4 separate regions of the Homo sapiens genome follow, and regions 2, 3 and 4 are each linked to region 1. The links are contacts of gene promoters, found by promoter capture Hi-C in blood cells and fetal thymus (Javierre and others, 2016). All regions are on one chromosome and are shown on one strand. The core of a region is centred on a gene start or on the middle of the fragment in contact, and the rest is flanking DNA. Distances in the headings are between cores, read along the strand shown. Region 1 holds the start of ALDH5A1 (aldehyde dehydrogenase 5 family member A1). Region 2 overlaps LINC02828 (long intergenic non-protein coding RNA 2828). Region 3 has its middle 6.3 kb from the start of C6orf62. Region 4 overlaps ACOT13 (acyl-CoA thioesterase 13).

Region 1 (2,561 bases), core at 25-2,524:
TTATCACTTCTGCCATATGTGACTGGCTCAAAACTCAATGGATCTGACTCAGCAAAAGACAAAGTCAAAATTTAAAGTTACTGCCTCGGCATTTTGCAAATGTCCTAGAAAAAAATTCAACGTCCTAGAAAAAGGTGAAAGCTAGCAAGATACTCTCAACGCTGTAGGAGTTGAGAAAGGGAGATATGTAACCTAAAATCAATGCATAGGGCTGGGCTTCATTTGCACCCACAAATTCCCAGCATACGCCTGCTATTTTTATTTTTATCCTCATTAGGTTTTAAGCTTCCCTGCTGCTTTCAGAGTCTTAAGCCCAAGTCTAATTTTTTAACGGATGAAGAATGCTGTTTAAAGGTGCTCAAATACCTTGGTTGGATAGTATGCTCAATCCTTATACCTTGGTTGATTCAATTTTGACAAATGCTTCCATTTACTAGTTGGTGACCCAACTTTAATCTTACTAGTGGCTTGACTAGGGTAGCTAGTATGACTTTGAACGCTATATTGAATTTAATGTGGCAACTGTAATGAGCATTTTACGTTATCTCACAACAAAATGGGGTAGATATGGTTCTATTTTATAAGTGACTGGACTAAGGTTAACCTGTCGGTCACACAGCTTGTCGGCAACAGACTTGAGTTTGGATCCTAGTCTGTTTATTTCCAAAGCGCTGTTATTTATCGGGAGCAACCCTAGGAGAATGCCTAGACACACACCCAAAAAAGCAGCCAGGCAGCAGAACGCGGGGTCACACTTCGACCCCTCAGAGAACGATCGCTCCCAATCAATACTACGTGCTCAGGAGCTACAACTGAAGAAGCGTGATCACGGCCTTGGCATTTAGGGCAGGCACCAGCGCATCTATGGACCGCGCACAAATTCCGGGGATGCCGAATTTGGGGGATGCTAAGGGGAGAGAGTGGGTCTCTAGCAGCGATTGGGGGCTCAGGAGCAGTTAGTGACAAATGAGCACCCGAAAAGTGAAAAGGTGACAGCAGTCCGCAGGTGCATCTACTGGCGAGCCTTCTCCATCCCCGAACCCAACCCTCCCCCGGGAGAAGGTCGCGCCAGGAGAGAAGCCGCGCGGCGCTTAGGGCAAGGTGCAGAGGGCGGCGCGGCGGTGCAGCGAGAAAGACGCGGAGAGAGGGCGCTGCTCTGTGGCTCTGCAACCTTCCGCCAGCTCCCACGCTTTCCCCGCGCGTCCCCGGCGCCTCCTCGCTCCTCTTGCTTCCCCGCGACCCCTGCGTTCCCGTGCGCGCGCGCCCGCTTGCCTGTTTCCTGTCGCCGTCGTTGCCCGGGCCATGGCGACCTGCATTTGGCTGCGGAGCTGTGGGGCCCGGCGCCTCGGGTCGACGTTTCCAGGCTGCCGCCTCCGCCCCCGCGCCGGCGGCCTGGTCCCTGCCTCCGGGCCTGCGCCCGGCCCGGCCCAGCTCCGCTGCTACGCTGGGCGCCTGGCGGGCCTCTCTGCGGCGCTGCTGCGCACCGACAGCTTCGTGGGCGGCCGCTGGCTCCCGGCCGCCGCCACCTTCCCCGTGCAAGACCCGGCCAGCGGCGCCGCTCTGGGCATGGTAGCCGACTGCGGGGTGCGAGAGGCCCGCGCCGCCGTGCGCGCTGCCTACGAGGCTTTCTGCCGCTGGAGGGAGGTCTCCGCCAAGGTGAGAGAGCCCGGATGCAGGGGGCCAGAGCTGGCCGGGGACACGGCGGGGAGCAGAGGGGGCTTTACCCCAAAGTGACACCAGCCGCGTCGCCTCCCTCCTGTGCTCAGTTCCCCAGGGTATACAAAGTGGAAAGTCAGAGCAACAAGGGAGACGACCGACAAATAAGTTTGGAGCTTCCACTTTGAGCCGGGCACTAGGGACACGACCCCTGCCCTCAAGCCTCATCAAGTTATGCACTGCCCAGTAGGGGAGGCAGAACGTGAGCGCCTAATACAAGCGAGCTGCTTGTTATGGTCAACAAGCCTAACCGTGGAGGGGCGGGGAGAAAGGGGAGGGGTGTCAGGGAAGTGAGAGCACGTGTGGCCCTTCAGAGTAGCTGAAATATCTCCGCAGCTGCAGGGAGCCCACGCAGGAGGCTGCTTCAGCGGCCCTTGAGAAGGCTGGTAGTGAGGGCCCCTGGCCAGAATCATGGGATCGGAAACGGAGAGAACTGTAGAAAGATTTGGGTTTTGTGCAGGGGAAGAGAGAAATCCAGGAGCGTTCTCCAGGTTTTCACCCTAAATGGATAAATGCTGCTATTGGCCATTGCATAGAGAACACTGGAGAATTGGGAGTAAGGGGTGGAGGGCCATTAAATGGGAAGAATAGAGTAAGAAGAAAACTAAGAAAGTAGTTTCTTCCTTCTAATATTATATTATTAAACCTGGAGTCAACGCAGTGAAATTTTTTACCGTGTCCTTCAAAGCTCTCCCTCTGAAGGAATGCATCCAGCGATCCCTACGAGTACAAGAGAGTCTTAGCACTCATTCATCCATCAGCTGTTTACTGAGCACCTGCTGTATGCCCTGCACTGTTGGAGGTGCTTGGGATACCTCAGTTAAACGAAAGAAGGATTCTGCCCT
Region 2 (2,561 bases), core at 18-2,517, 250 kb after region 1:
CCTTAGATGAATTTATTTTAGAAAGGAGGGGGATAAGACTCCCAGAGAGGGAGGAGGCAAGGTGGAGAGATGGCGTACCAATACACAGAAGTAGAAATTAGAATAATTGTAGGAGCTTGAGACTTGGTAGTGGCATACACAAGAAATTCATTGAATGTGAAGTAAGGGAATGGAAGGAAAGCTTGAGGAGAGAAAGAAAACCCATTGGTAAGATTATGAATTTCATACAGGCAAAAATTCATAAGAATTTCATACGAATTCGGTAAAAGATACCAAGCAATAGTAATACTTATTCACTAACAAAAGCTCAAGCATCTGTAAAACAAAAGAAATAACAAAGAACTAAAGACAATCTGGGCCGTTTACGAAATCCATGTGTGTGACCTTAAAGAAGCTCTTTCCCGAATCATTTTCTGTTGTTGCATTGCTGTTTCCAGAGTTCTGGAATTCTATGCCACAAGCTGAACATTAAGGTCATTGATATCATCTGAAGCCAGGAAGAGTCTCTGCTAGGAAGACTTTTAGCACAAAATCAACTATTCTCTGCTCCAAGTAAAATGTCTAAACTGTCTGCAAAGGCAAATGGCTAAAAGCTTTGACAGGAATACTTCGTTAAGTGAGATTAGTCATGACCTCTTAGTAATATAAGCCTGAAGAAAGAAATGAAAGTTGGAAGTAAAGATATGAGTCATGCTGCAACTTGGTAGCTGGCATTCATTCAGGAGCTCAACAATGTCAGCAGATCTTAGGCTCCTTCCTTCTGCTCTGCCAGTCCTTATTCTTGTTAACTCATAAATTCAAAATGGCTGCCACAGCTCCCAACATCACAGTTCAAAGGCAGAAAACAGGGTAGTCAGGGTAAAAGTCTTTATCCTTCTGGGGCTACTCTTATCAGGCGAAAGATTACCTTTCCCAGTAGCCCTGTAGTAGACTTCCCCTCAAATCTCTTTGCCATATAACTGACTACTCTTAGATGTAAGGAAGGCTGACAGAAGGACACAGAATGGCTATGACTGGCTTAGCTAATAATGACTCATCTGCTAGGGCTGGGTACATTCCCCAGACAAAATAAGGCAGTGGGGCAGGAGCAGGGAAATGGCTGTTGAGTAAGCAACAGTGTCTGTCACAGTGAATTTAGCCCATATACATATAAGTTTGGTCTTAATTCTGTATCAAATTTTGTATGATATTTTCTGGGTTTTTGTTGTTGTTGTTACTTTTTGAACACTTCTCTACTGGACTGTATTTTCTTTGTGTTTGCATGTGTGTGTTTCCTAATAGTTTATAGGGAAATAAATTTTTGTTCTAGTGGTTACCTTATAACTACAAGTTTATATAATAAACCTAATCCTCTTTCTTCAAGCAAAACCAGTTGACTCCATACTATGAACACTGACAAAATTAGCACACTATCACTTCCCTTTTTCTGCTGTTCTTAGTATTTATCTTCGCTTTTTTTTTTTTTTTTTTTTTTGTAGAGACATGGTTTCACCATGTTGGCCAGGCTGGTCTTGAACTCCTGGCCTCAAGTGATCCACCCACTTAGGCCTCCCAAAGTGCTAGGATTATAGGCGTGAACCACCACGCCTGGCCTTTATCTTTGCGTTTCTAAATATACTTATTCTATTAGGTTGGTGCAAAAGTAATTGCGGTTTTTGCCACGTACTTGATTTATCATCTTTAGATGATTTATTTCCATCCCTGGCTATTAAAATAATGAAATCAGCACAACTTAAACTACCTCCCTCTCTTCGTCACCTTTTCTCTCCCCACTATTGTTCGTTTTATACTTTCTTGATAGCAGGCGAGAATTAGAAAGAATGTAGGTGCTTGGTACTTTTACTGACATATAAGGGAGATTTTCTTGCTTAGGAGGATGGAAAGGAGATGGCTTTCACTTTGATAATGGAACCAAACGTATGGCCTGGTCATGAAGGAAGGACAAGCTTCTAACCCAAGGTTATTTTCATGAGATATGAAAGGAAAAATATCAGCTCCAGGTGTGCTGGCACAGAGTCCCAGCTACTCAGGAGGCTGGGGCAAGAGGATCATTTGAGCCCAGGAGTTTGAGTCCAGCTTGGGCAACATAGCAAGACCTATCTCTAAATAAATCAATAAATAAAGTATTCAGTACTATGTGGAACTGAATTTTGAGGAAAGTCTAGTAGGGGAGAGATATGTAGCTTTTCTTCAGCATCCAACACAGGATTTAAATCTGTGGAGAAGGTGGAGTTACCTCAGGTTTTTTATTTCCTTCTGAATGTCATAAGTAGATTTGGACCTAAGGCTGTCCAATTCCAGAGAGCAGTATAAAATGGGGAAATCACTTTTGCCCTAAGATTAGACTGCAGCTTTGGTTTCACCCTGCTTGTTCATGCAGTTCCTGCAGACGTTGACCTTCTAGACTGTCTGCCTAGACCACACAGGCCTCGTGTCTCCTATTCCTCAGCTCACTTCTTAAAATGGAACTTCCCTTCTCCCACATCTTATAGGACCTGCGTCACCTCTTTAATTGTATATTAATGAGCTCTTCTGGTACTCGACGTCTTACCTTTCTATTA
Region 3 (2,561 bases), core at 18-2,517, 230 kb after region 1:
AATGAAGTTTTTAGTTTCAGCTACTGTGAAACAGAATTGGAGACACCTGGTCACAGCTGAGCACATCCTATGAAACTGTGTTATGGGACTGTGCTAGGTCTTAATGAGATGAGCCAAGAAATAGCAGCAATGTCCCCTGGAGGACGAAAACACTGCTAGCTCAATTTTCTCTGTAACTTGAAAGGGCTATAAAATAAGAAGGTAGTCGAAGGAATTAAAATTTTTAAAAGCCGTGACCAAACGTTTCTCAATGAAATTCAGATAAAAGTCAGAGAGCATTCACTTAAGATTTAGCTTCTTTAACTGTGGAGAAATGCATTTCATTGTGTTAGAAATGGCTTACTTAGGGTTAGGCTGCTTCAAACACAATAGGATTTGTGGAGTGATGATTTGATGGTGGCACCTTGGCTAAAAATATCTGCTTAACTTCCCTTTTGGAGTTTTAAATTATACCACTAGATACATTGAAATTTCCCTGGTTGAAATGCAGATATCACTGCAAAGGTTACATTTTAATGAAATAACACCTTATAGAGATTCTGTGCGAGCCTCCTTTCTGAAGAAACACAATGCAGGCCAGCTTGGGCGGGCTCCTGTGTTAACTTCCAATCTTTAAAGAAGGACAACCTCGGATAATCCCAGTCTCTGACATTTATAGCAAGTTAGGAAATGATTTCTCAAACCTGTGCTTGTGTAGCCTAAATAAATGACAATAAGATAAACAATAAAGTATTTAACAATTGGCCTTCACTTTTCTAAAAAGAGCCAGCCTTTTCTTTTACCTTTAAAACATACATTGTCTGTACACACATGCTCTTCTTTTACAGAAATCTAGTTTTCTCAACATGCTCAAGCATATTAGACTTCTCAGGGTTCTCAAACATCTTGTCCCTTCATTAGTGCTATGAAATTTGTCAGACATGGGCCTTGAATTTTGGCCATATTTATGATTAACAGTTCAATAAGCATGATAAACGTCTACAGCAGAACAAGTTTATGGTTAGACTCTACAGGTCTTGAGAACAAGTTCTATTGCTCTACAGTTTGATCCTGAAAGCAGCCACACCAAGGATCTTGTCTCCAGATTTCAACTCTACAGATTTATCATCTAAGATAATTATGATATTATGTGTTAATAAAATTTCATAATCCAATGGGGATTTTCACAATATGTACTCTAGCACATACAGACCTCGCATCTACAGCAGAGCTGCATGGTTATGAAACCAAAAGGGTATTAAGAGGAGAAACTATGTTTGTTTTGAGAGCTATTCTTACCCTTTTTAGGAGGATCAGGGGATAGCTTGGTAGTTTCTTCTTTAGTCTCACCCTTATTTCATGTTAGCCCAAACTATAGAGGTCAGTGCTTATTTGCAGGCTGATCGTTGAATATTTATTGAAGGCCTAAAACAAGTTGTAGGCTTGAAAAATGAGATTTGAGCCGGGTGCAGTGTCTCTAGCCTGTAATCCCAGCACTTTGGGAGACTGAGGCGGGTGGATCACCTGAGGTCAGGCATTCCAGACCAGCCTGGACAACATGGTGAAACCCTGCCTCTTTTAAAAATACAAAATTAGCCAGGTGTGATGGTGGACTCCTGTAATCCCAGCTACTCGGGGGCCTGAGGCAGGAGAATCTCTTGAACCCAGGAGGCGGAGGTTGCAGTGAGCCGAGATCGAGCCATTGCCCTCCAGCCTGGGCAACAAGAGCAAAACTCCGTCTCAAAATAAAAAAAAAGAAAGAAAAAGAAAAAAGAAAAATAAGATTTGGCCAGGTAGCAGCCATTGTCCTGGAGCTTGGGACAGGGTTAAGAACCAGAGGCATTTTCAAGTGAGTACGTCTATCCCACCATGTATTTTCTTTATTTATTAACTTCTTCTTTCCCCTGTTCCTTTTTTTTCTCTCGCCTGCCTTTCTTTTTTTCTTTTCCACTTCTCATGCTTTATGCCCACCAGCATTATCAGAAAATACTAATTAGACACCTTTTGTTTACACTTTGGGTTAAAGCTATACAGATTGCTGTCCAAACAAATCTGCTGGTACCATTTAATAAGGAATATTTTTTACCCATTATCTTTGCCTGTTAGTCTCAATTTGTTATCAAACACACTTCTATTTAGTTTTCCTTAACCCCGGGCTCTCACTGACTTTTGCTTCTTGACTACTTCCTAATTTCATTTCAAATATTTTTCTAGATTCCAGATGTCACTCCCACAATTCAAAATGCTCTTACTATTCCATTTAACGTGTCTAGGAAGGTTATAGTAGATAAATTGAAAAAGCAACCTTCTGACACTTTTGTTAGAACTCCATCATCATCCTTAGAAAGAAAATGTTAAAATATTATAGAGTTCGTGCCACTCTTCTTACCCTATTCCCACATACAAAGAAGGCAAATTTGAGCAATTAACATATGAAGGAAAGTTTAAATGTTTTAGAATTTTTTTCCTCCCTTCCCAGAACACATTCCATTCTCTATTCCACAAAGATTAGGTGTTGGAAAGGAATGGGAAAGATATATACATGTATAACAATTTTTTCCACAGGTAAGGTAATTCCACTT
Region 4 (2,561 bases), core at 45-2,544, 180 kb after region 1:
CCTCTTCTTCGATAGTCTCTGGGCCTTGAGGAGTTGAATGCCTTTAATTTCTGGCCGTGTATCTCAGGAATGCAGTTTATTTTGATTGGCGTCTTCTACGGGGCCTGAAGATGACAGCTTCAATTGCTGTCAGTGTTTAAGATTTAGTAGGACTTGGTGTCCTTTTTAGACCCAGGAGTCAAAGCCCTGTAACCTAAGGTCACAAGGACTTTAAAAGCACATACAGGAAAATACCCAGTTGTAATCATGTTAATTAAAAAATCTTTTTTTAATCTCAGTTTTTTCCTAAACATAGGAATTATTTCAACAAAATGTAAACTCTGTTAGGTCAGTTACCAAAAAGCAAAAGAAAAGACCTTCTGCAATGCACAGAACATGATGTTGGAAGAAAACACTTCCTTTAGACCTTTAAGACAGTGTGCCTTTTTAAAGGGGAGAGAAAGCTGAAAAAAAATGGCAAGATGCAATAAAAATTGAACTTTCAGTTTTAAAAAAAAATTAAATTCTCTTATAATTTTTTTTTTGAAATAGAGTCTCGCACTGTTGCCCAGTTTGGAGTGCACTGGTGCAATCTTGGCTCACTGCAGCCTCTGCCTCTTGGGTTCAAGCAATTCTTGTGCCTCAGCCTGCCAAGTAGCTGGGACTACAGGCACATGCCACCAGGCCTGGCTAATTTTTGTATTTTTGTTAGAGACGAGGTGTCACTACGTTGGCCGGGCTAGTCTACAACTCCTGACCTCAAGTGATCCACCTGTCTTGGCCTCCCAAAGTGCTGGGATTACAGGCAGAAGCCACCATTCGTAGGCAAATTCTCTTATAATTTATTAAGAGTAAGTTAACCCCTTAAGAAAAGTTTATTTTTCTAACCAATAATTTCGTGTATATGTGTCTTTTTTAACATGAAGCCCAGTCTCTAGAAAGAGCATTATAATTTCCTTTTAATTGTAAACATGATCATATACAATTTTTTTAAAACAAATCCTCTTATTGTGACATACACAGACCATTCATGACATGCTTGAACTTTTATCTTAGGACTAAATTTACCATACAGTATTCTTTCTCATGTAAAATTATTTCTAAGCTTTCTTACCACATACAAAAAAAATTTGTTTTATAACTTCCTTTACAACATCTCTCTTATTTCCTGATTCCTTTACCTTGTTGTATACATAACCTTTAAATAAGTTTTGTGGGGTTTTTTTTGTTTGTTTGTTTTTTATCTGAGACAGAGTCTTGCTCTGGCACCCAGGCTGGAAGGCAATGGCCCGATCTTGGCTCACTGCAACCTCCACCTCCTGGGTTCAAGTGATTCTCCTGCCTCAGCCTCTCGAGTCGCTGGGATTACACGTGCACCACAATGCCCAACTAATTTTATATTTATAGTAGGGACAGGGTTTCACCATGTTGATCAAGCTGGTCTTGAACTGACTTCAAGTGATCTGCATGCCACGGCCTCCCAAAGTGCTGGGATTGCAGGCATGAGCCGCTGCCCCTGGCCTAAATAAGCTTTGAATTAGACAAAACTTGTTCACCGTTTTTGGGGGGTTTTGTTTGTTTTTTTGTTTTTTTGAGATAGAGTCTCATTCTGTCACCCAGGCTGGAGTGCAGTTGCGTGATTTCAGCTGAGTGCAGCGTCTGCTTCCTGTGTTCAAGTTATTCTCCTGCGTCAGCCTCCTGAGTAGGTGGGATTACAGGCGCCTGCCACCACGCCTGGCTAATTTTCATTTTTTGTATATTTAGTAGAGACAGGGTTTCACCATGTTGGCCAAGCTAGTCTCAAACTCCTGACCTCAAGTGATCTGACTGCCTTGGCCTCCCAAAATGCTGGGATTACAGGCATGAGTCAGTGCACCCAGCCCTAGAGTTCAACTGTTTTTTTATTTTCTTATTATACTTTAAGTTCTAGGGTACATGTGTGCAACGTGCAGGTTTGTTACATATGTATACATGTGCCATGTTGGTGTGCTGCACCCATTAACTCATCATTTACATTAGGTATATCTCCTAATGCTATCCCTCCCCCCTCCCCCCACCCCACGACAGGCCCCGGTGTGTGATGTTCCCCACCCTGTGTCCAAGTGTTCTCATTGTTCAGTTCCCATCTATGAGTGAGAACATGTGGTGTTTGGTTTTCTTTCCTTGAAATAGTTTGCTGAGAATGATGGTTTCCAGCTTCATCCGTGTCCCTACAAAGGACATGAACTCATCCTTTTTTATGGCTGCATAGTATTCCATGGTATATATGTGCCACATTTTCTTATTCCAGTCTATCATTCATGGACATTTGTGTTGGTTCCAAGTCTTTGCTATGGTGAATAGTGCTGCAGTAAACATACATGTGCATGTGTCTTTACAGCAGCATGATTTATAATCCTTTGGGTATATACCCAGTAATGGGATGGCTGGGTCAAATGGTATTTCTAGGTGTAGATCCTTGAGGAATTGCCAGTGTCTTCTACAATGGTTGAACTAGTTTACAGTCCCACCAACAGTGTAAAAGTGTTCCTATTTCTCCACATCCTGTCCAGCACCTGTTGTTTCCTGACTTTTTAATGATC

What was found. The method cuts DNA at HindIII sites, captures the fragments that hold promoters and counts their contacts. A CHiCAGO score of 5 or more calls a contact.
Region 2: a fragment that was not itself captured here is called in contact with the fragment with the promoter of ALDH5A1 in region 1 in 1 of 17 cell types (naive B cells); the score reaches 5.3 in naive B cells.
Region 3: a fragment that was not itself captured here is called in contact with the fragment with the promoter of ALDH5A1 in region 1 in 3 of 17 cell types (fetal thymus, naive CD4 T cells and naive CD8 T cells); the score reaches 7.6 in fetal thymus.
Region 4: a contact is called between a fragment that was not itself captured here and the fragment with the promoter of ALDH5A1 in region 1, in 2 of 17 cell types (naive B cells and erythroblasts). The highest score is 6.3, in naive B cells.

The regions. Positions count from the first base shown.
Region 1 is chr6:24,493,695-24,496,255 of GRCh38, forward strand. ALDH5A1 (aldehyde dehydrogenase 5 family member A1) reads left to right here and starts at 1,275. Exons shown (of 10, transcript NM_001080.3): 1 at 1,275-1,656. The coding sequence starts at 1,303. It also overlaps a transcript of GPLD1 not described here. RefSeq lists a silencer at 1,281-1,670. The HindIII fragment of the contact is 3,166 bases long and covers 284-2,561 here.
Region 2 is chr6:24,742,737-24,745,297 of GRCh38, forward strand. The region is part of intron 1 of LINC02828 (long intergenic non-protein coding RNA 2828); the gene reads left to right. Among named protein-coding and RNA genes, the nearest start is that of LINC02828, 1.7 kb to the left of the region's middle. RefSeq lists an enhancer at 789-878. The HindIII fragment of the contact is 1,353 bases long and covers 592-1,944 here.
Region 3 is chr6:24,724,165-24,726,725 of GRCh38, forward strand. No RefSeq gene overlaps it. Among named protein-coding and RNA genes, the nearest start is that of C6orf62, 6.3 kb to the left of the region's middle. The HindIII fragment of the contact is 4,468 bases long and covers 1-2,561 here.
Region 4 is chr6:24,672,855-24,675,415 of GRCh38, forward strand. The region is part of intron 1 of ACOT13 (acyl-CoA thioesterase 13); the gene reads left to right. LOC124901279 (a long non-coding RNA gene) reads right to left here. Exons shown (of 2, transcript XR_007059509.1): 1 at 1-2,561. Among named protein-coding and RNA genes, the nearest start is that of ACOT13, 7.1 kb to the left of the region's middle. The HindIII fragment of the contact is 425 bases long and covers 1,083-1,507 here.